Regions from separate parts of the Homo sapiens genome. Here region 2 is linked to region 1. Evidence: promoter capture Hi-C in human tissues and cell types (Jung and others, 2019). All regions are on one chromosome and are shown on one strand. The core of a region is centred on a gene start or on the middle of the fragment in contact, and the rest is flanking DNA. Distances in the headings are between cores, read along the strand shown. Region 1 holds the start of SYDE2 (synapse defective Rho GTPase homolog 2). Region 2 overlaps DNAI3 (dynein axonemal intermediate chain 3).

Region 1 (3,411 bases), core at 887-3,386:
CCTGGGCTCAAGCAATCTGCCCATCTCAGCCTCTCAAAGTGCTAAGATTACAGGCATGAGCCACCCCGCCTGGCCTAGAGCAGAGTTTTAGAGAGTGGGTAAGATTTCTGCAAATATTCTCTCTTATCTGCAAATCTCAGATGCAGGTAACAATTATTCCAGAAAGCAGAGACTAGGTACTAATAAAGGTAGTATAGTCAAAGCACATTCAGAGATTGGAGCCACTGGACAACAAGAAAACAACTGACATAGGAAAATATACTGCAGTTGCAAATAAGGTAAATTAGGGCAAAATTATTTCATTTTATTCAGTAATGCAAACATTTATTTATTCAACAAATATTTTCTTAAGTATTTGAGTATCTACTAAGTGCACGCACTGTGCTAGGTGTCAGCATATTTATGAGTAACTCAGAAAAAGGCCCTTTCTACTATGTAAACACTAAAAAAAGTAACTCAAATCAGGGATGATAGCACGACTGATTCTTATCAGTCACTGAATCAATTAATCTCTGGCAACGAGGGGTACTTGAGTTTGCAACTGCTGCCCAGAACCTGGAATTTAACGTTTTTGGGAGACAGCCGGTATTTCTAGATTACACTGTGTCTCAACTTCAATTCAATTGCTTCTCAACTCACTATTTAAATTAAAATGAAGTGTTAACTTTTTTATATTAGAAAGCTGCAAACCTGTATGATAATCTTGTAGGTAGGGTGATGAGGGACATAATATTTGTGGCTCCATTTTACAAGTTTTGGCTGATGTAATAATTTTGTTAGCATGCATTAACTGAAATAAAGAAGGAAAAACAGACTTAAAAGAGACATCGGTGGGTGGGTTTTGTTTTGTTTTTGATAAAAGAACTCTTATAGAAAAGGAATCGCTGCAAATTTCTTTTAGCTAGCTAGCTCTCTGGGCGATTAAAATGATTGATACATTTCTAGAACACATGCACCGAGATACACCTGCACTCGTACTTTGTCCGTCAAAACAATCTTTGTTTTCTCTCAAGCTAGGACTTGCTGTGCCTAAGACACACCTCGTGCAGCGGTGGCGGTGAAGGTGCTGGGGTGACAGCCAGGAGGGCACTTTCCCTTTCTCGGGCTCCCTAACCAAAACTTTGCAGCCACCAGCCCAAACTCACGTTCCTGCTCGTTCTTCTTTCCCCTGCCTCAACTCTCCCCGCACCCTTCGCGCTCTGTGCGCCCACCCCTGCTTCCGTCGGTCAGCTTCAGCCGACCTACTACTCAACCTACCGGCCCGCGCCCTCCGCCTCCACCTGCACCACTCGCCCACCCCGAGAACCCACCTCTGCCGCCCCCGGCCCGCGCGCCCCGTCGCGGCCCGGGGCTCCGGGGCATGCGCGTTGCGGCGCCACCGCCCTCCCCCACGCCTTCCCGCGGCAGAGTTATGCCAAGTATGTGAGGAGCCGGCGAGGGCCAGCGCCGGTCATGGGGAGCCGCCGCCGCCTCCGCCTCCGCCTCCGCGAGCGCGGTTTTCTCCCCAGCGGGGCTCCGACCTCTCCCCCTGGCGGGGGTGAGCCTCGCGGCTAAGGCAGAGGGGATGGCGGACCCTCTGAGGAGGACGCTGTCCAGGCTCCGGGGAAGGCGGGGTCCCCGCGGCACCGGGGGGCTAGGGCTCCGGGCGGCAGCCGCAGCTGCGGTGGCGGCCTCTTCGGCAGCCGCGGGAGACGCCTGGGGTGCCGCAGACACCCTCCCACGTGAGCACGCCGGGGGACACGGGCGGAGCCTACAGCAGCCCTCGCCGTCACCTGAGGCGTGGGGTCCCGGGGCGCGGGTCCCCGGAGGGCACCCGGAGCAGTTGGGGGCGCTCGGGCCTCGGCCGCGCGGCGGGCAGGAGGCCGCCCCCCAGAGCCATGGGCTCGCTCACGCCCCTCCGCACTCCCCGGAGGGCTCCGAGGACAGCGGAGAGGAGGAGGAAGACGACAAGGACGAAGACGACTACGACGCCGACTACTACGAAAACCTGCCCGGCGGCTCGCAGTCTGCGCCCGAGCCTGAGGGGGCGGAGGCGGAACGGCGTCCCCCGCCTCCCCCAGCGGCGGGCTCCTCCCTGGGGGCGGAGGGCGGCCGCCTGGAGACAGGCAGGCTGCGGACCCAGTTGCGAGAGGCCTATTATCTGCTGATCCAGGCCATGCACGACCTGCCCCCTGACTCGGGCGCGCGGCGGGGCGGCAGGGGCTTGGCGGATCACAGCTTCCCCGCGGGAGCCCGGGCTCCGGGCCAGCCGCCTTCCCGCGGCGCCGCGTACCGCCGAGCCTGCCCCCGGGACGGGGAGCGGGGAGGCGGCGGACGCCCTCGGCAGCAGGTGTCCCCGCCCCGGTCGCCTCAGAGGGAGCCGCGGGGAGGCCAGCTGCGGACTCCTCGGATGCGGCCGTCCTGCAGCAGAAGCCTCGAGAGCCTCCGGGTGGGTGCCAAGCCGCCTCCCTTCCAGCGGTGGCCGAGCGACAGCTGGATCAGGTGCGGCGCGCACCGGGACTGGGACGAGCCCCCGCCACGTGGAGGCAGGATGGACGGCTGGAGTGGGGACCGCGCCCGGGCGGCTGCACCCACCGGCCTCCAGCCTCCAGGCTGCAAGGACCACGGCTGCTCCTCGGGAAGCCCTTTCAGGGATCCAGCGGGGTCCTCTGTGATACGCAGTGGCAAAGGAGACCGCCAGGAAGGCCCCTCCTTCCTCAGGCCGCCGGCAGTGACAGTCAAGAAGCTGCAGAAGTGGATGTACAAAGGGCGTCTGCTGTCCCTGGGAATGAAGGGTCGTGCCCGTGGGACGGCTCCCAAAGTCACAGGAACGCAGGCAGCCTCCCCAAATGTGGGCGCTTTGAAAGTGCGTGAAAACCGTGTCCTGTCGGTGCCTCCAGACCAAAGAATTACGCTGACAGGTAGGATACTTTGCGATGAAAATGCTAGCACCGCGAGCCTTACTGTTTACCGACTGGGCTTCTGTCTTAAGAGCCAAGAAAAAGTTATGTTTTTGCGACAGGTACGTTACCGGGCGAAAGTAAGTGTCATGTAAGTGGCAGCTTAAAGTAATTTCGGGGTTACTTAATGTAATGCATTTACTCGTTTTGCTTTTTTTTTTCTTTTTAATCAGACAATGGCATGAAGAATTGAGGTTGTGATTTCTTCTCGAAAAACCAGTGTGTCTATTCCCTAAGTATTACCTAAAGGAGTAAAGGTTAAGTATAACACACTTTTAGTAGGTTTACAGATGGGCGGCACTGTCTTGATTTTTATTCTTTGTAGCTCTAGGCAAATCCGTAGACTTTTGTGGAGTTTGTAAATTTGAATTTGATTCAAGGTAGATTTTATAGGCTTCATAAACTGTCATTTTACTCATTACAACTTTTTTTTTTTGCCTCTCCCAGGCACGCACACACATGCATACATACA
Region 2 (3,133 bases), core at 537-3,036, 110 kb after region 1:
ACATTGAACTAGTTTGCAATTTTACATATGAAAGCAACAGACAATTTCAATGTTATCACAAAAGGGAATCCCCATCATTTCCATCTCACCATAGATAGTTGGATGCCATGAGACACAGGTAATCATTTTCTCCGTTGGGCTATGAAGGTCGGTAAAGGACTGGTACTCTTTCAGGTGGGTATCGGTCTTGTCCCCAAAGGTGCCTTCTTCTTCTGCGAGGTATTTCCAGTCATCAATAAATGTGTTCATGATTTCATTTTGCTGCAGGGCTATTTCAACACTAATTTGTAAAAATAAAAAAAGCAATTAAGATATTGGTTTTTAGTATCCAATAATGTGACTATCTTAGCAACTCCTCCTCCTTCATTTATACTGAACAAAAAATAATAATTCTCAATTATATTTGGTGATAATGATTAACCTCATGTGAAATAAATGACTTAAGAGAAAAAAACATCATGGTGGCATGTTACTCAGAACCTCGAGCAACTTCATGATCTGCCTCAGTTTCCAAGCCAAGGCTGTACTCTCTCCAGGCCAATGCCTGAGCATGCAGCTGCAGGGATGGCTGGGCCTGGCCAGTCCTCCTTGTGCAGCACTCCCACAGCAGGCATCTTTGCTCTGGAGCTCCTGCTGAGTAGGCTGAGAATTTGTCTGATGCTCTACCTTCCCGGTCCTGTCTCCTCCTCCTTTATTTTTCACAGTGTAATCCTCAGTAAACGTCTGCCTCTAACTTGATGTCATTTGCTTCCTGGAAAGCCCCAACTGTCACAAATGGCAGTTTTCTTAGGCATATTCTGTACTAAATGATCACTTATCCTTAACAGGATAGCCCCAATACATATGTAATTCAAAACAACAAATAAGAGATTCTGAACAAGGGAAGAATTGGAGTTTAGAAGTGTGTGTGTGTGTGTGTGTGTGTGTGTGTGTGTGTGTGTGTAGTTTTAGTTGTCACAATGCCTGGGAGGTGCTACTGTGTTTAATTCCATTACCAAACCTCCTGCAATGCATGAGACAGTCCCCAAAATGAAAAATTATCCTGCTAAAAATACTAACATTGCTCCTTTAAGATACCATCTGAGTGCTAGGATCATTTGCTAATAGTCTAGGGACCTTGGTTTGACAGGCTCCTGTCTTAAAGTAGTTACTATGATAGTTATTGTCCCTTTTTATGCTTAGATCTGAAAGCTCTGCATACTCCCAAAGTTGCTAAGAGCCCTCCCACAATTAGAATGCCACCCAAGGTTTTACCCTACTGATCAAAACTGTAAACTTCTTGGTTTTATATAGGTGTGGTAAGTTGAAAAAGTGGTTCTCAATTGTGAATTTCTTAAAATAAGAAAAAATCCTTTAGATAGTTCAATATAAACAGTAAAAACAGATACTCCTAAAATATAAAAAAGGGCACCGTTTGATACCCCTGTCATTGATCATTACACTACCAGTCATTGCCTAATTGAGTCCTCCCTTGGTTAAATTCTTCTTGTATTTCATCTTTCAAAATAGACCCCTTTCCTAAGACCTGGCCACTTAAAGTGTGATCCAGTGACCACCAACATGACCTGGGGCTGTTAGAAATGCAGAGTCGCAGGCTCCACCCGACTTACTGAGTCAGAACCTGCATTTTAACAAGAGTCCTCAGGTGATTCATAAGCACACTGAACATTGAATAACCCTGTGTAGCGGACTCTCGAGGCTTAAACAGTTTCCAGTAGAAGCATTAGTAAGCATTTTCCAAATCATATTTCTTTCTGGTTAAGCCCAAATGAGAAGGGAATTCTCAAGAGAAAAGTTAAAGACGTGGCTTCCGCTCTGGTTTCCTGATTCTACCTCCTTAGCCAGAACGGGGAAGTAATTCAAACGGAAGAAGTGAAAACACATCTTTCTTCTGGTTTCCGGTTTCTTGCTTTCCTGGAACCATGTAGCTCCCGAGAGTAACAAATTGGAGGCTAGCAAAACTGTTGTCTAGGAATTTTAACCCCGAAAGGAAGGTTTCTTAGTTGTTTTGTGAATCCCCCTGAAGTTCCTCTCTCTCATCTCATGTCATTGCCTTCTTTTGCAAATAATGCTTCCCTTAAGTTTGTTTTAGATAAAATTCTATGAGAAAGAAATTTCCCATTTCTAAAAGGGCTTTCTTCCAGAACAAAATCAGGCTTACCTTAATTAAAAACTATTGAATAAAGCTTAAGCAGTTTTAAAGCTGGAAGTTATGTTTGCAGTGATATAAACATGGGTTTCTTATCCACTCTGGGCCAGTGCTATTATAATTCCTGTGCCAATTTTCCTCTTTCTTCTTATAGATCTGGCTTCTCCTTCCCACATCTCAGGGATGGAATCATAAAGCTGTCCACTATTCTTTTCTTTATAAGCATGGAAATTCAGAGGGAAGAATAAAAGCCCAGGTCTAAAGATAATATACAATGTGGATTTATTTTGAACATTTTTTTATTCCCTCAAGATCTAGTTTTCTCTGGATATTGATTATATGTAAACAAACTTCTCATTTTGAATATTCTTACAGGAAAAATTGTAATGACTACTAAATTTTGATAAGGGGAGGGTGAAACTCAGGTTTTCTTGTTTCTATCTCATTGCCCGTATAGCAAAAATTATAGCATCCTTCCTGCGAGTGGCAAATAATGTTCTCTCTGAATCATTAACTGAATTTTTGAGCCAGAGTCTCCCTAGGCATAAGTAACAAGTTTGAGAGTTGTTGGAATTTTTAGGATATTTAATCCAGTATGAAAGAACCAACGACATTTCTTAAAAATAAAAAAGTTTAACTTGGGCTATATATGAACTTGACCACCAAGTTTTTAATTTTAGAAAGAAATAGAAACCAGCCTATTGAGTATAACTGGCAGACTTGTCCTCCAGTGGATCCACTTCTCTAAACTCTAGTATCAGCTTGGTGAGAACTTGTCAAGCTGTTTCTCTGGTTTAGAAGCCCCAGAACTCTACCCAGGGTCCTACTAACAGCTTAGGGGGCATTTTGAAGATGCTTCTCTTTCAAAGCCAGTAAGAGTGCAGGAACACAGGAATTGGTGATAAGAGTGAAATGTCCAAAAAGACATTTGAATTAAATTCAGGTTCTCATCTACAAAGATATTTTTGCAAATACTTATCATCA

The links. The method cuts DNA at HindIII sites, captures the fragments that hold promoters and counts their contacts. A contact is called where the count stands out against the background at its distance.
Region 2: a fragment that was not itself captured here is called in contact with the fragment with the promoter of SYDE2 in region 1 in 2 of the 25 tissues and cell types used here (neural progenitor cells and thymus).

What each region holds. Positions count from the first base shown.
Region 1 is chr1:85,199,741-85,203,151 of GRCh38, reverse strand. SYDE2 (synapse defective Rho GTPase homolog 2) reads left to right here and starts at 2,136. Exons shown (of 7, transcript NM_032184.2): 1 at 2,136-2,900. The coding sequence starts at 2,156. LOC124904207 (a long non-coding RNA gene) reads left to right here and starts at 2,910. Exons shown (of 2, transcript XR_007066199.1): 1 at 2,910-3,001; 2 at 3,113-3,411. RefSeq lists a silencer at 1,248-2,397 and an enhancer at 2,410-3,021. The HindIII fragment of the contact is 20,475 bases long and covers 1-3,411 here.
Region 2 is chr1:85,090,605-85,093,737 of GRCh38, reverse strand. DNAI3 (dynein axonemal intermediate chain 3) reads right to left here. Exons shown (of 23, transcript NM_145172.5): 9 at 90-280. Among named protein-coding and RNA genes, the nearest start is that of DNAI3, 30 kb to the right of the region's middle. The HindIII fragment of the contact is 5,308 bases long and covers 1-3,133 here.